Linked DNA regions of Homo sapiens: all the other regions are linked to region 1. Evidence: promoter capture Hi-C in 16 types of primary human blood cells and fetal thymus (Javierre and others, 2016). All regions are on one chromosome and are shown on one strand. The core of a region is centred on a gene start or on the middle of the fragment in contact, and the rest is flanking DNA. Distances in the headings are between cores, read along the strand shown. Region 1 holds the start of TFAP2A-AS1 (TFAP2A antisense RNA 1). Region 2 holds the start of BMP6 (bone morphogenetic protein 6). Region 3 has its middle 5.7 kb from the start of EEF1E1-BLOC1S5. Region 4 has its middle 27 kb from the start of EEF1E1-BLOC1S5.

Region 1 (4,066 bases), core at 1,139-3,638:
CCTTTCTGACCAATTTTGGCTGTGCCTAAGAATGGGGGAAAAGAAGAACATGGGCTTTTGAAGCAATTGCTGGCAACTGGGCACTTGCCTGTGCACTCCTCGTGTTATCTTCATCGAGATTGAGGGCCCAAGTCACCAGGAACAGAAAGGAAAGAGAAAACTCTTTTCTCTCTTGAACTTCCTCTCCGATCTTTAATATTCCTTCTTCTTTCTATTCATTCATTCATTCATTCATTCATTCTTTCTTCCCCCCACCCCCACTTCTAAAGCGGTTCCCTTCTCGGCTTTAGAGACGGCCCCCCCACACTTCGCTGTGAGCTGGGCTGCATCTTCCTGTAAGCGGGTTCAACTTAAGACCACTGATCCCAGCTGCGGGGCTCGCTCCAGATCCTCTGTGCTTCACGAAGTTCTAAGTAGCTTCTCCCTCTGAGCTACAGGATCGACGCACCCCACGGGGGTGTGTGGGGGTGGGGTGGGGAGATGTGCTGCGCCGAGCCTGCTGGCCGCTGGGTGCGGGAGCACCAGCTTCTGCACCAGCCCAGAACGACCGTGGGAATCCTTGCGCGGCTGCAGACCACCTCTGGTGCCGCAAGCCCGCTGGGCCGACAGAGCGCGCCGCTTTGGAACCCATTTTAAAACGCAGAGTCCCCTGAGCTCGCCTTCTTGAGGCAGCAAGGGAGACCCTAGCGCGACCTGTCCACCCGCAGGAGGCGCTGGGAACGGTTACAACCAACACTGTAATGAGCAATGAGTCCGAGAGAGGGGTTGGGGTGTGTAGGGCTGGAGATTACCTAAATAAATAGGTGGCAGTCCCAACTTTTGCTGTTTTTTTTTTTTTTCTTTTTTGGCATTTGCAGCTGAGAATGTTAGGCAGGAGGTGTGTGTGCAGGCGCAGGGGCGGAGATCTTGACTTCACTCGAAACCAGAAATTGGGTTTATGTGAACGATGTGTCACCCGCTCCCTCCTCCCTTTTCTTTCTGAAGATTATTTTAAATCGTTCTCCTTTCAGGCCCCCCACCCCGGTAGATGGGGACGGGGTGACATCCCACGGGTACTGGCTCTTCCCTGGGGGGGTCCTGTCGCGCTAGAGGAGGGGCGCAGGGACCCCACGTCAGACCAGTCGCTTTGTTTTCGAGGCTGGGGGCGAGCTTTGCGGGCAGGTAGGAATGAAGCCGAACCCCTCAGTCTCATAGGACAATTCATACTGTACTGGTCTGGGCTTTGGCCGGAGGCTTGGGCATTTCACTTTCGCAGAGGCCGAAACCCAGCTCCAGGTGTGGGCGCCCTCGGCGGGCGGGGTCCGAACCTCCGTGCGGCTCTAGGTGCCGACTGGATGGGGTGGGTGGCTAGGTGGGGGATGAACTTGCACCCCTAGAGGGATCCTGTGGGGGCAAGTGTGAATGCGTGTGTAAGCGAGGCAAAAAAAGATGAGAGAGAGAGGAGAATAAAGTCAAAGCTGTTTCCACAACTTTGGCCGTGGTGGGCAAGCGCCGGAGCGGGGATTTCGGGTTTCGGAGCTGGCTTGGGGCAGTCTGATTGTGCCGGGGCTCTGTAGGGACACGCAGGAGGCGAGGTGCCGCTTGTTCTGACAACCTGGCGGGTAGACTGGCAAAGGCAGCACGCCGGGAGAGCTAGTCGTGTCATCTGGGGGGGCGTCAGGCGGGAGTGGCCCAGCCAGTCGGACGGGTTTTTGCCGGGAGCCGCGAGCCGGTGCCAGCGGCGCCCGGGCTGGGCCGCCTAGCGTCTGTGCGCGCCCCGGCCCGCATCCCGGCTCCCGATCCGGAATCCCCGGCCCCAGAGAGCCGAGGGCAGAGCGACGGTGGCCGGGGAGCGCACGGTGCCCCTGTCCGAGGAAAGCTCAAGAGGAGGCCGAGGAGAGGACCAGTGCAGCGAGCGGGCCGGTCCCGGGCAGGGCGCCGGGTCATGGAGGAGCCGCGCAGCAGCGGGCAGCCGAGTCCCGAGTCCCAGACTCGGCTGCGAAGCGGCGGAGCCCGCGGCCAGACAGGGCCGGGAAGCGCCTGCCGCGCCGAGAGCCCCACGAGCGCCCGGACGCGGTCCCAAGCAGCTCCTACCCGCTACGCACGACCCCCGCTGCATCCCGAGGTCTGCCCCAGCCTTTTAGGTCTGATTGTCCTCGCTCGCTTCCTCTCCCCTTCCCCCTCCCCCGCGGCCTCCCCCTCCGTGCGCTCCGGCTGGGCCCCCTCCCCCTCCCTCCCTCCCTTCCTCCCTCCCTCTTTCCCTCCCTTCCTCCTCTCGGGCTCTCCCTCCTTCCCTCCCTCCCCTCTCCCCACCCGGGGCTCCTCTCCCTCGCCCACACTTTCTTTCTCACACACGCACGCAGACACATTCTCCCTCTCTGCGCTCTCTCCTTCGGTCTCCCTCTCTGCCTCTTTCTCTTTCACTTTTGCATGCCCTGCAACCTTTTAAAATGTTGCCCCTTCCCTGTGATTCGCCAGACGCCGCGCCGCGGCCCCCCGCGCGCTCGCCCGCTCCCTCTCTCGCTCGCTTTTTGTCTCTCGCGCTCCCTCTCCCCACTCCGATTTGCTACACTGAGACTCCCGTCAATGGACTGCATTGAGAGCCGGCTCCGGCGCGAGTTGCCTCTCCGCTTCACGCTCGATTTCCAGGCATTCTTCCCTTATTAAGTATTCGTGTAATATTAATAGTCATGAATATCTGCTATTAGGAGGCTCCAGGAACGCTGCCCAGCGCGGTTATTAGAAGCTCAAGCGAAGCCGCCGCTAAGAAAAGAGGGGGAGACACGGATTAAGGAACACGCACGCACCCACACACTCACACATACTTTTTCCTTTTTCCTTTTTTGGGGTTTTTCATTTTTAAAGAACTTTGAATCATAACCAGTCGCGGCAGGATAGAGACCGTGGGTTCGACCAGCTGAAGGCGCCGCGCGAATCGGTGGTTCAAGTTCGGATGGATCCGAGCCGGGCTCCCGCGCTCCGGGGAGCGTCGGCGCCGTGACTGGAGTCCTGGGTGGCGCGGGGCTCTCGGCGCCTTTTGTGTGGGGCGCGCTCGGGCGGCGGGGCAGCCGGGCGCTCCAGGCTTGCTTGTTTTTTTCCACCCTGACTCGTTACCCCAGACTCTTCGCAGATGTTAGTTCACAGTTTTTCAGCCATGGTGAGTCCCATCCCCACCCCCGTTGCTGTTTCTTTAGGAATTGGATTCTGGAAACCTGGTGCCGTGGAGCTGCCCGAAACCTCGGGTTTCACGCCCAGCTTTCCTTCAGGACACCCTCTCCATTTGCATCCCCCACCCCACCTTCCGCCTTTCTCTCGCTCTTTTCCATCCCTAAATCGAGTGCATTACCCCCTACCCCAGCCCCCGCTCGACCTCTCCGAGCACGCAGACCTACCTCGCCGCGGCTTCCCAAGGCGTGTTTCTCCCCACGTTCATCTTGATTTCCTTGAGTCTTCACTTGTCCCCGAGATGTTCTCAACATTTGATGCTTAAACTGTCTGCAGGAAAAGTGCAGCGCGGTGTGCCCCCTACCCTCGGGACCTGCGGCCGAACCGCCGAGGGTTCGCGGTCTCTGGAATCAACTCTCTTCGCTTGTTTTGCAAGGGAATTGCAATAGAGAAACCTAAAGTCAGGCGTTTCTTCTGCCCTTTGGGGCTGGGGTGGAAGGGGCGGGGGGGGGGGGCCACAGCCCCGGGGTGCACCTCTCTCTTTTAAACCCAATAAGGCTGAATCTTTCTATTTTAAACCTTGACTTGACGTCCCCCTTTCCCTATCCAAACCATAAATCGACTCTGTCGAGAAAAAGGCTCCTAACAGAGGAAGCGAAAAAGACAGACCCCGATCCTGCAGTTAAAACCTTCTTTAAGCTGGTAATTTAAACGTGTGTTTTTGTTACAGCCCCTCTGCGAAATATGTTTCTATTTAAGTAGTCATGAAACGGTAACAGTCTTTGAACGTTTATGATTTTTTTCTCTCCAAATAAATGGAAGAGAATAAACAATAACGCAGTGGCAGACAGGTTCAAATCGGGGGAAAAGAAAAGGCCGCTTCTGCTGTTTAGTATTTAGGAGGAATTTTAATTTTGCTTAA
Region 2 (4,066 bases), core at 692-3,191, 2.7 Mb after region 1:
GAGGGGAAAATCGTACTGAAGAGCCCTCTTCCCAGGATGGCCACACTCGGGCTGGACTCTCCTGCTGCAGTTGAGTTAACCTGGCCAGAGCTGGGCAGAAGTGAAAAAAAGCGCGGAACGTGCTCAGGGAGTCCGCAAATACACGCCCGCTGGGGACAGCGCTCCCGGAGCCCCGCGGCCCGGCCGGCCAGCCGCCTCTGGGGGCCTCGGCGCGCAGCCCTGCCCGCGGCGCGGGGGAGCGCATGTGCCGCCCACCGCCGCGCAGGTGGCGGGAGCACAGCCTGCCTGTCCCCGCGTTCTCTGGCGCACCAGGCGGGACCCGCGCGCCGGGAGCTCCTCCACCCCCTCACTCCATCCCCTGGGCCCGGGACACTGAAAAGGGGGAAATGTTCTCGTCATTACGTTACCCCAAATCCTTACCCAGGTTCACAAAGCTCATGACCATGTCCGCGTCGTTGAGGAAGGCGCTGTCCTGCGCGCTGGTCAGTGGGGACGCGCCGCCGCTGCCAGATCCGGGGGCCAGAAGGCTCTTGCGGTTGAGCGGGTGCGCGGCGCCCGGGGGCGGCTGCCGACGCTGGGACGAGCTGGCTGCTTCGTGGGGCCAGGACTGCTGCCTCTCCCCCTCCGACGCCCCGTCCTCGTCGTTGTCGGCGGACAGGGCGTTGTACAGATCCAGCATGAAGAGGGGCGCGGACTTCAGTCGCCCGGGAGGGGGCTCTCCGCGAGGCAGCTGCTGCTGCTGCTGCTGCTCCTCCTGCTGCCGGAGCGCCGGGGGCTGCGGCTGTTGGAGGCCGTGCAGGGGCCGGGGCCGGTGCGGGAGCCCCAGCACCGACAAGATCTCCTTCTGCATCTCCCGCTTCTCCTGCGTCTTGAGCCGCCGGTACAGGAAGCCCGAGGAGGACTGCGGCGACGGCGGCGGCTGCTCCGTGCGGCCGGGGCTCCCGCCGTCCCCCAGCAGCTGCCCCCCGGCGGCGGCGGCCGCGGCAGCGGGCAAGGGCGGCCGCAGCGGCGGGGGCCCGCAGCAGCTGCACAGCAGCCCCCACCACCAGCACAGCCACTGCGCCCTCCGCCCCAGCCCCGGCATCCCCGCCCGGCCGGGCTGCCCCCGCGGATCCCGCGAGGCGTGGAGCGGCGGAGCGAGGCCGGAGCGCGGCCGCTGTGGCCCTTGGCGTGAGCAGTCCCCGCCACCTCTCGGCGGGCTCGCTTCCCCTTCCTGGCCCTCAGTCCTTATCTCTCATGGTCGTCCGGGGCGCCCCCAGTTGCCCAGGCTAGAGAGGTGGCGAAGGGGCGATCACCAGGAGAACCGCTTGGAGGGGAGGAAGGGGAGCCTCACAGCCTCGCGCAGGTCTCTAGAGGCGCGCGGTCCAGGCCAGGTGCGTCTGAGTCCGGGCTGCACTGCAGCCTGCGCCCTGGCTCCTGCGAGTCGCGGCGCGGTCACTCTGGGCCTCGCTGGCCGCACACGTGCGCTGCCCCGCGCTCTCCCTGGCGACTGAGTGGGACCCGGGGCAGCGGGGAGCGGGGCCGCTCACGAGCTGCGGGAGATGCCCGGCATCACCGTGGCGCACGCCCCTCCCCAGATCGCAGGGCCACCATGAAGTTTACCCCGTTGCAGGGCCCAGGCTGCGGCGACAAGGCGTCCCGAAATGCCAGTCTATTCCGCGAGGTTTAACTTCCTTCTCGCTCACGAACTCCGCGCCCCTGAGCTCTCGGGCACCGTCGCTCCCACTCAAAATCTCCGCGCGCCGCACGCCTCCTCAAGCGGAGGCGGCGAGGATCTTGCTTTCCGTTCGGCGGTCGCCCGGCTGCCCAGCAAACCCGCTCGCAGAAAGGATGGGAAGGAAGGGGGCTAGTGCACCGAGCAGCGGCCGCGGCGGCGGCGCCGGAATTCGGTCTCCCGCCTCTCCACGCCGCGCTCCCCGCAGCGGCCAACGTGGGCTTTCTGCTGCGCGCCCGGCTCAGGTACCTCACTCCAGCCCCGGGACTCCCCGCCCCGCGGTAACCGACAGGCTGGCAGCCAATGGGGACGCGAAGCTCGCGGGCTATTTAAATAGCCCCGCCCCTTCTTTCACCCTCCCTCTCCCGAGAGGCGTCGCCTCCGCCGCGCGTAGGTTTCAAGACCCGGGAATTCTTGGAGGCATGCGAAGAGCCGCGAGGTGCCAAAGGCGAAGAGGTCATCGCTAGTAAGAATGATCTGACCAATACCCCGATCTGAAGCTTTCTCTTTTACCATCATTTAAAAGGCCTAAGTTGATGCTTTAACTAAATAAAAATAATAACAGCGATTAAATCACTATACTGCCAGAACTGAGGAAGAAAAGAAAAATGATAGCTTTTCCATCCCTTCCTTAGTTTCTCTTATTGATGTAATGTAGGCGTTTAGCGGACACGTGGCTTTCCACGGCAGCTGCTGGAAGTTGGGACACACCCTCCGGGGAGGCTACTCACAAACTGACCACAGAGAGGGCCACATGTAACCCAAGCCAGCGTCCTGAGGGTTTGGGGTCGGATGTGTTGACTTCTCTGTTCATTTGTGCTTTGGTTTGGCTTCTTAAGCTAGCACCCAAAAGAAAGAGGGTGTAATCAGACGATATATTAGAAAAGGCGTCCCCTGTCTTCTTGGAAATGTCTTGATTCTCCAGCTTATCTATTAATGTTGCATTTTAATATTGAAATACAATGTGACTTATATGGTGCAAGATAAAACTTGAGGAGAGGTGATAAAGATAACTCCAGGAAGAGCAGGGGCTTGGCATGCATTCTGAATGGTCAGGACAATAGACAGGGTCCTGAAACACAGGTTCCTGTGGATTTTAGACAAGATAACACCACCACCAACACCATTTGCCAATGAGGACACAAATTCATTTGCCTTTACCCCGCCCGAGAACATCCAGTCATCTATGGATCGTAGAAGCAAATTCACGTAAAACATGAAGGTTTTTTACTTGGTGAAAATTGTGTGGAGTTGAAAATAAAAACTGCAATTTTCTGACTTGCCAGCCTTAGTCCAAATGGTCCTAGGCATTTGAGAGTGAAGTCAAATAGATTATAGACTGTGGGATTCATGAATTTATGAGATCATAGGCTTTCTGTTGGTCCAAATCTTATAAGCATTCCTATCCTATTTCCAAGAATCTATTTCTCATGGGTAAATAGAGACCACCACTGACTCCAACTACCCACTGAGTCCTTCTTTCTAGTTCTGCCTTGGCCCAGACACAAGTGGTCATTTAGAAGAGTCTTTATTTCTACAAATATCTGATAGCTATGAATTTCAGGGCACAAAACTTATGTGAATGCCAGTCTTTAACCATCTCTACAGGGATTTCTTCCATCCGAAAAGATAATACGATACTTTGTCTGGGATGCCCGGACCCTCAGAATTCAAGAGCCCTGTCACTTCTTTTTTCTGTAGGGAACATGTTAGGGACATAAATTCACTGCAGTGCCCCACAGCAGCCAAGAGCTCTGCTCAGAAGATCTGAAATTCCAGCAAATACACCTAGGCTTCCTGCCAAGAGCCTCCTTTTTTAAACCTAGTTGCACCTTCCTCATAAGACTTCTGGTGAGATGCAGGCAGAGTAAAAGACTTTCTACCTACGAGGGCAGTGGGGAAGACACAGGAAACTCAACATTTCAAGCATGGATGAGGGCACCTTGGTGGGGCTATGTCATTTAAAACACAAAATCGAGGGGTGACCCACCTATTGTAGAGGTTGAGCATCCCTAACCCAAAAATCTGACATCCAAAATGCTCCAAAATCTAAAGATTTCTGAGAGCTGACATGATGCCTCAGATGGAAAATTCCACACCTGACCTCATAGGATGGGACATGGTCAAAACACAGTCAAAATTTTCATCCACAAAATCATTTGAAATATTGTATTAAATTACCTTCAGACTATGTATATGAGATATATACGAAACATAAATGAATTTCATGTTTAGACTTGGATCCCATCCCTAAGGTATCTCATTATGTATATGCAAATATTCCAAAATCTAAAAATCTGAAATTTGAAATACTTCTGGTCCCAAGCACTTTGGATAAGGGATACTCAACTT
Region 3 (4,066 bases), core at 899-3,398, 2.3 Mb after region 1:
TAATCTCCTGGGCTCCTGCCTCAGCCTCCCAAGTAGCTGGGACCACAGGTGCATGAAACCATGCCCAGCTACCTTTGCACCATTCTAAAACCCATCTTCTTTCTTTCTTTTTTTTTTTTTTTTTGTTGTTGTTGCTGTTGTTGTTGAGACAGGGTATCACTCTGTTGTCCAGGCTGGAGTGCAGTGGCATAATCTCAGCTCACTACAACCTCTGCCTCCAGGGTTCAAGTGATTCTCGTGCCTCAGTCCCCCAAGTAGCTGGGATTACAGGCGTGAGCCACAATGTCCAGCTAACTTTTGTATTTTTAGTGGAGACAAGGTTTCACTATGTTGGCCAGGCTGGCCTCGAACTCCTGACCTCAAATGATCCACCTGCCTCAGCCTCCCAAAGTGCTAGGATTACAGGCATGAGCCACCGCACCCAGCCCCATTCTCTTTCAACACTCCTCTGTCCCTCTAATATTTTGCCCCAATGATTACTATTCATTAACCTTCATTCACTCATTCTAGAAATATTATTGAATGCCTACTCTGTGTCAGTTGCATCTCAAGTGATTTAGAGTCTATTTGGAAGAGTCCAAAATGTGAATAAATAGGTGCAATGAAGTATGGCAAATTTCTTTGTAGGGAGCAAATACAGGGTTCAGCAGAACCCAAAACACAGAGTGACCAGCGCTGCCTGGGTTGGGGGTGAGGATAGGAAGGGATTAGGAAAGTCTGCAGAGAGAAGGTGACCCTGAGCAGAGTCTGAAAGGAAGTAGTTCTCGGGGCACATGTCCCTTCAATGGCCTGTGCTGCTCTTGAACAGAAAGAATTAGCCTGTCACCAGCATGCTGGCCCCAGGCTGACTCTTCACCTGAAGGGTGGCACCGAGGACATGCTCCGCCCTTGAGCCTTCCTCCAGGGAGTGTGGAGAAGACGTTCTGCTGCTAAAAATCCTGTGACTCTGCTGTCATTGTCCCCAGGGCTGTGGTTGGAGCTGTGCTGACAGCTCCTCTCTCACACCTCCTCTGCAACAATCTCAGTGACACTGTGCAGCAGGGTCCCCAGCATGGCTCTCAAGCCAAGATCCACCCAAGCCTTGATGAACTGGAGTCCCCCAAGATGAGCCTGGAGTTCTAAATTGAGTCGCCGCTGAGTCGGAGAATTAGGAGGCTATAGAGAGGATGTCGGGGCAGGACTCAAAATCTGGGGGATACTTTGTTCTTTTCTAAGGTATTTCTCTATCTGTAATGCTCTGAAGATTCATTTTCTTACACTTCTTGGAGCCTCAATTTCCTCATCTATAAAATGGGGATAACAATGGTATCTGCTTCAAAGGCTGGTGTGATAATTCATGAGTTAATACAAGAGCTTAGAACAGAGTCCAGCACAGAGCAGTGATCAGTAAGTGTTTGACAGCCGGATGCCGAGAGGGAGGAGAATGAGGACGATGGCGATGATGATGGTGATAATGTAATAAATGGCCACTTCCTGAGCCCAGAGAAGGTGGTTTGGGGGATCAATGAATGTTTGGGAGACTAGCGAAAGAAAATGATTTTTCTTTCAGTACATTGGTTGTCCATTCCTGACTTGTAGTTTTGAGTCATTTTCATTTGCACTGGTCAACCGTCAGATAAGGGATTTTTAATTTTTGGTGTTTAATGTTTGCTTAAAGATGAGACTGTGTAATATCCTCACAGTTCTCATGTTACTTGTTTTGACCCATTGACCTAGCTTTCCACATCATTCCATATGTTTGCATGATTCTTTATTCATTCGGCAAATGAATGTATCCAGTGATCACTCTGTTCCAAGGCTGGTGCCTGGTGCGATGACTCAGTAATAAACAGGATGCAGTCTGTGTGCTCAGTCAGCATGCCGGCCAGGGCAGGCAGATACCAAGAAGGTAGCCTCAGCACAGTGGGGTCTGTCTTGTGGCAGGAGCATTCCCAAGGCTGTTATGAGTGCTCAAATTCAGCCCTAAGAGAGGAAGCGGGGCATTCCTGCTGGAGTGAACCAGAGACAGAAAGGCCCAGAGGCAAGAGAATATTTTGGGCTCCCAGGAGCTGTGAGGAGATGGCCAAGGCTGGGGCAAAAAATGCCAGGCAGGAAGTGTCTAGAAGTGAGCATGAAAAAGTCAACAGAGGTCAGGTTATAAAGGACCTTAGCTCCCAGATAAAGGAGGCTGGACTAAATTCTAAGTGCCATGAAGAGCCACAGGCATGTTTTCTGGAAGGAGTGACCAAATAGATTGGCAGCTAAGAAAGATCACCTGAGGCCAGGCATGGTGGCTCACACCTGTAATCCCAGCACTTTGGAAGGCCAAGGTGGGTGGATCACGAGGTCAGGAGTTCAAGACCAGCCTGGCCAACATGGTGAAACCCTGTCTCTACTAAAAAATACAAAAAATTAGCTGGGCGTGGTGGTGCGTGCCTATAATCCCAGCTACTCAGGAGTCTGAGGTAGGAGAATCGCTTGAACCTGGGAGGCAGAGTTTGCAGTGAGATGAGATCACACCATTGCACTCCAGCCTGGGTGACATAGCAAGACTCTGTCCTCCGCATAGAGATAGGTGTATATAAATGATTGTAGATAAGAATTGGCTCACACAATTATGGAGGCTGAGAAGTCCAGTGATCTGCTGTCTGGAAGTTAGAGACCCAGGAAAGATGCTGTGATATGGTTTGGCTGTGTCCCCACCCAAATCTCATCTTGAATTGTAACTCTCACAATTCCCACGTGTTGTGGGAGGAACCTGGTTGGAGGTTATTGAATCATAGGGGTGTGTCTTTCCCATGCTGGTCTCATGACAGTGAATAAGTCTCATGAGATGTGATGGTTTTAAAAATGGGAGCTTCCCTGCACAAGTTCTCTTCTCTTGTCTGCCGCCACATGAGATGTGCCTTACACCTTCCACCATGATTGTGAAGGCTCTCCAGCCACGCAGAATCGTAAGTCCCATAAACCTCTTCCTCTTGTAAATTGCCCAGTCTCAGGTATGTCTTTATCAGCAGCGTGAAAATGGACTAATACATGGTGGTACCATTCAAAAGCCTGGGAGCTGGACAGCAATGGTAAAGATTCCCATCTGAGTTTGAAGACTTGAGAACCAGGAGCACCATGGGCAAGAGAAGATCAGTGTTCCAGCTCAGCAGTCAGGTCAGGAGTAAATATCACCTTCCCTCATACTTTTGTTTTATCCAGGTCCTCACAGACGGGATGATGCCCACCCACGCTGGTGAGGGTGATCATCTTCATTCAGTCCACCAACTTAAATGCTCATCATTTCTGGAAACACCCTGACAGACACACCCAGAAATGATGTATTACCAGATATCCAGGCATCCTGAAGCCCAGTCAAGGTGACACATAAAATTAACCATCAAAAATAAAGGATGCCCAGAGGCCTCTAAAAATTTTTAGAGGCATCGTTCAAGGACCCTTCCAATCCAGCATCTGCTTACCGGTCTAGCCTGAACAGTTACTCCAAAGAATCATGCTCTCTTCCACTTTGCAGCCTTTGCATATGCAATTCCCATTGCTCAGAACTCTCCCTCAGTTTTCCACCCCACCACTCACCTGACCAACTCTTGTTCATCCTTCAAGTCTCAACTTGAACACCATGACCTCTTGGAAGCAATCTTTTTTTTTGAGATGGAGTCTCACTCTGTTGCTCGGGCTGGAGTACAGTGGCACAATCTTGGCTCACTGCAACCTCCACCTCCCAGGTTCAAGCAATTCTCTGCCTCACCCTCCTGAGGAGCTGGGATTACAGGTGCCCACCACCACCACAGCTGGCTAATTTTTGTATTTTTAGTAGAGATGGGGTTTCACCATCTTGACCAGGCTGGTCTTGAACTCCTGACCTCGTGATCTACCCAACTCAGCCTCCCAAAGTGCTGGGATTACAGGTGTGAGCCACCGCGCCTGGCCAGGTGCCTTCTCTGCATTCTTATCATGCCTTCCACTTCCTGATCTTTGCCTTATCGCAAAATTGTTCTAGTGTCTTTCCTCTCAAGATACTCTAAGTTTGATGGGAGTTGTTCATCAATGTGTCCCCAGTGCATTGTACAGTGCCTGGTGC
Region 4 (4,066 bases), core at 833-3,332, 2.3 Mb after region 1:
TCCATGAAAGACTGTACATGATTCGCAGTAGTGACAGGAAACGCAGGCAGAGATGCCTTCTACCTGCAGTGAATTCCAAAGCACTTCTCAGCTTTTATTCTCGAGCTTCTCCCATACCAAACCTCCATAATTTGCTAAAACTTGGTGACTGAGAGACTGATTTGAAATCCCCTTTTCACCTGGGACTCCTTGATGGTCCAAATAGATGAAGGGCAGGTGGCAGAAAGGACACAGGAAATGAGAAGCTTGGAAAAGGCACTGCTTGGTTAATCAGCCCCTTATAGATAGTGCTGAGTTCGTAGTACCTAACAAGATGTAACGGAAGCTTATTGCATAGGAAAAAGGAGCTGACGGATTATTAGCCTGACACTCTCCATTTGCTAAACGTACAGAACAGATTCATTACCTTTGTCCCCCCGCCCCTTAACAGTATGGGTTTGATTGCCCTCTTGCCTACAGGTAATTCTCCATCAAAATTAAATCCGTCCGCTAGTTCTCAATTTTATAAACTATGCAGGCACAGGGAGAGAGGAGGTCGGGCGGAGGCTCGTGCTGGGTGGGAGGAAGGTTACCTTTCCCAGGGCCACAACGCCAATCCAAAATTCTTCTACTCCTAGAGCTCTGAAGATGCCTGTATTCACGGTCCCATAGTGACACCAGCTGGTCAGATTCCAAAAAACAGCTTAGATGGAGAGGAAATGGCTCAGCCCCCTGCACCGTGCTCAGATGATAAATATACAGCCCTGGCCTCTTGACACTCTGCCTGTTCCAGTTTAAATGACATATGCCATATAAGGCATAAATACATTTATAGAATAAATACACAATACAAAAATGTGTAGATACTTTGGCTGTTACAAGCTCCTCTTCTCTTCCCCAAAAGATCAATGACACTGTTGATGCTTAATTGTCAACCACCATTTTCCTCCCTAGCAATTACACACCCAGTCCTATGAGCTGGCGCAGACTAAATCAGGGGAGGTCCTTGCCAGTTTACCAAGGTAGGGAAGGTTCGCCATTGGGAGAGAGAATGAGGCCTGATGTTCAGTTTGTATGTGACAGATGGAGAAGACGGATTGTGAAGACCAAAAACACCTCTAGATTTGTCCATTTCAGAGCTGCTGGAGCTCCAGAGTCTCTCTCCTGTGAAGACTTCTTCCCCAAAATGCGGCCTTGGCGATGTATTCACGAAATATTCATTTTGGCTCCTGATTTTTTATTCGTCATCTTGTAGTCTTTTTCTTTTCCTTTCAGGAAAAGGCTTCTTCAAATTGTATAAGCTTCAGACTTTGAAAAGCTGGGATCCATACCTGCAATAATGTATATACTAGATGTACTGGTACAAACGTTGGATACCTACTATATCCTCAGCACTGTGCTGGGTGCCGGGACATGTGCAGGAAAGGAGCAGGAAGCTTCCTACTCGATCAGTTAACCACACCAGCACATAAAATAACTAGCCAGCGTTGCAATGCAATATGTAATCAAAGACTAAATTGTGTAATCCAAATTATGTGCACAGTAGCCTGGAAATTCACAGGGGGAAATAGAGGTTATTAAAGGATGTGAAGCAATTCTGGAATGCTTCACTGAAGAAGTTTTAAGTGGAGCCAGAAAAGTATGGGAGAAAGGAAAAAGAAGTAACTAATCAAGGGGGAGAAGGGGGAGTGAAAGCCTCGAGGTGGAAATGAGGTTGTTTTGTTTTGTTTTGTTTTGTTTTTTTGAGACAGAGTCTCACTCTGTTGCCCAAACTGGAGTGCAGTGGCATGATCTTGGCTCACCTCCACCTCCTGGGTTCAAGCAATTCTCCTGCCTCAGCCTCCTGAGTAGCTGGGATTGCAGGCTAATTTTTGTATTTTTAGTAGAGGCAGGGTTTCATCATGTTGGTCAGGCTGGTCGCCAACTCCTGATCTCATGATCTCATGATCCACCCGCCTCGGCCTCCCAAAGTGCTGGGATTACAGGTGTGAGCTACCACACCTGGCCAAGGGAATTCGGTCATTTTTAGTGAGGAAGAATGAGAGCAGCTTGACAGAACCAAGCTGCACATTGGAAAGTAGTGGGAGACATTGGACTGAATGAGATGGGAATCCAGCTACCAAGGACAAGGACAGCCCCTCAAGAATTTTGACTTGACTTTGAGATCTCAAGTGAGAAAAACCACACAAAGGTAACTCTGCTGGCATTTTACACAATGATTACGCACATTTTTCTAATAACTTGCTGGAAATAGAATGAGCATTGCAGCACCATCGGACAGGTGCCTTACTCATTGGAGATGTCTGGACAGTGCTGTGATCATCCTCGCCAGCTGCAGCAATAGCACCCTGGGTCCTGCAGCCAGAAAGAAGGATCTGATCATCACCTCGTCCTCATGCTGTGCTGAGGAGCCTTGGTGCACAACTATTGGCTCGTTTTGGGCAGGACAGGTAAGTCCCAGCTGCAGAGCTTATGACACACAATTTTTACCTAAACTTCTAACTTTTATCCACGATACCTACTCCCCTTTCACTGCCTTCCTAACTTCTTGGCTCTTAGAATGTCCCAGCTTCATGCTCTTTTTAAATACCTGTATAAGAAATCATGTCTTTAAATAAGTAGAGGGTGCTTTTCGTGTTACCATGTAAAGGTTTTGAAATAGCCCCTGAAAAAGACATAAATATCTCTCTTAGCAGCCTATCAAAATGCCAGACTTCTCGGCATTTCGTGTCATTTCCTGTGGATTAACCCAATATCAATGTCAAGCTTCTTGAAGACAGAAATGATGCCATTTCCTAGCATTTCCCAATGCCTCGAATTTGCCTAGCAGGTAGGAGTTGCTCCATAAATGTTTGTCGGATGGACCGATAGATGGATGGATGGGTGAGTGGGTGGGTGGGTGGATGGATGGATCTTTGGTTGGATACATTTAAAGTAAAATGAAACATCCTGGCTAACACGGTGAAACCCCATCTCTACTAAAAATACAAAAAATTAGCCGGGTGTGGTGGCACGCGCCTGTAGTCCAAGCTACTCGGGAGGCTGAGGCAAGAGAATTGCTTGAACCTGGGAGGCAGAGGTTGCAGTGAGCCAAGATTGCACCATTGCACTCCAGCCTGGGCGACACAGGAAGACTCTGCCTCAAAAAAAAAAAAAAAAAAAGTATAATGAGAAACTGGAACTATGTATGTGTTGGTTCTGATAGGCGTGGACCCATCCCATTGTCATTGTTGTCAGGATCTGGATCAGCAAGACATTGGCCAACTGGGACAAAGAGAAGAATAAGACTCAAAAACTGATGGGAAGAACCAAATACTACTGAAGACCAACTTCACTGCTCAAAGTGGCCTGGTGCCAGTCCTTTTCAGGAATTAAATGAAACTGCAGCTTCACTGAACCACCTCACAATTCCATTTGCAGACAGGAATGCCCCAGCAGATCCCAACAGGATGCTCACCCCATGGAGGGACAGAGTGGGTTGATCCAGCCCACTAATAATGCTAACATTTCTACAGCGCTTTCTTAGGTGCCAGGCTCTGTTCTAAGTGCTCTACTTACATTAACTCCTTTAGCCCTCATGACTAACTTTACAGGTGTGTAGTACTATTTTAGAAATAGTCCATTTTACAGTTGAAACGCTGGAACACAGAGATGTGAAGTAGCTTCATCCAGGCTACACTCCTAGTATGTGGTAGGGAAGGGAATGCCACAGGGAGCCTGGGCTTTGATACCAGGCTTTTCCCCATCTGCCATGCTGCTCTTGGGTCCCAGCTAAGGGTAGAACAAAGATAGAGGGCCTCGGGCCAGGCGCAGTGGCTCATGCCTATAATCCCAGCACTTTGGGAGGCTGAGGTGGGCAGACCACGAGGTCAGGAGTTCCAGACCAGCCTGGCCAATATAGTGAAACCCCGTCTCTACTAAAAATACAAAAAAATTAGCCAGGCATGGTGGCGGGCACCTGTAGTCCCAGTTACTCAGGAGGCTGAGGCAGGAGAATCGCTTGAACCCTAGAGGCGGAGGTTGCAGTGGGCCGAGATCGTGCCACTGACTCCAGCCTGGGTGACAGAGTGAGATTCCATCTCAAAAA

The links. Contacts are between HindIII fragments. The CHiCAGO score rates a contact against its expected background, and 5 or more counts as called.
Region 2: the fragment with the promoter of BMP6 here is called in contact with the fragment with the promoter of TFAP2A-AS1 in region 1 in 1 of 17 cell types (total CD4 T cells); the score reaches 6.6 in total CD4 T cells.
Region 3: a contact is called between a fragment that was not itself captured here and the fragment with the promoter of TFAP2A-AS1 in region 1, in 1 of 17 cell types (naive CD4 T cells). The highest score is 8.0, in naive CD4 T cells.
Region 4: a contact is called between a fragment that was not itself captured here and the fragment with the promoter of TFAP2A-AS1 in region 1, in 1 of 17 cell types (M0 macrophages). The highest score is 5.1, in M0 macrophages.

Annotation. Positions count from the first base shown.
Region 1 is chr6:10,410,640-10,414,705 of GRCh38, reverse strand. It overlaps TFAP2A-AS1 (TFAP2A antisense RNA 1), which reads right to left and starts at 2,388. Exons shown (of 3, transcript NR_033910.1): 1 at 2,339-2,388; 2 at 1-25. The region is part of intron 1 of TFAP2A (transcription factor AP-2 alpha); the gene reads left to right. RefSeq lists an enhancer at 1-408 and a silencer at 1,789-2,148. The HindIII fragment of the contact is 20,769 bases long and covers 1-4,066 here.
Region 2 is chr6:7,723,974-7,728,039 of GRCh38, reverse strand. It overlaps BMP6 (bone morphogenetic protein 6), which reads right to left and starts at 1,941. Exons shown (of 7, transcript NM_001718.6): 1 at 421-1,941. The coding sequence starts at 1,084. The HindIII fragment of the contact is 3,909 bases long and covers 1-2,216 here.
Region 3 is chr6:8,106,233-8,110,298 of GRCh38, reverse strand. No RefSeq gene overlaps it. Among named protein-coding and RNA genes, the nearest start is that of EEF1E1-BLOC1S5, 5.7 kb to the right of the region's middle. RefSeq lists a silencer at 974-1,166. The HindIII fragment of the contact is 4,957 bases long and covers 1-4,066 here.
Region 4 is chr6:8,128,043-8,132,108 of GRCh38, reverse strand. No RefSeq gene overlaps it. Among named protein-coding and RNA genes, the nearest start is that of EEF1E1-BLOC1S5, 27 kb to the right of the region's middle. RefSeq lists an enhancer at 718-767. The HindIII fragment of the contact is 1,330 bases long and covers 1,418-2,747 here.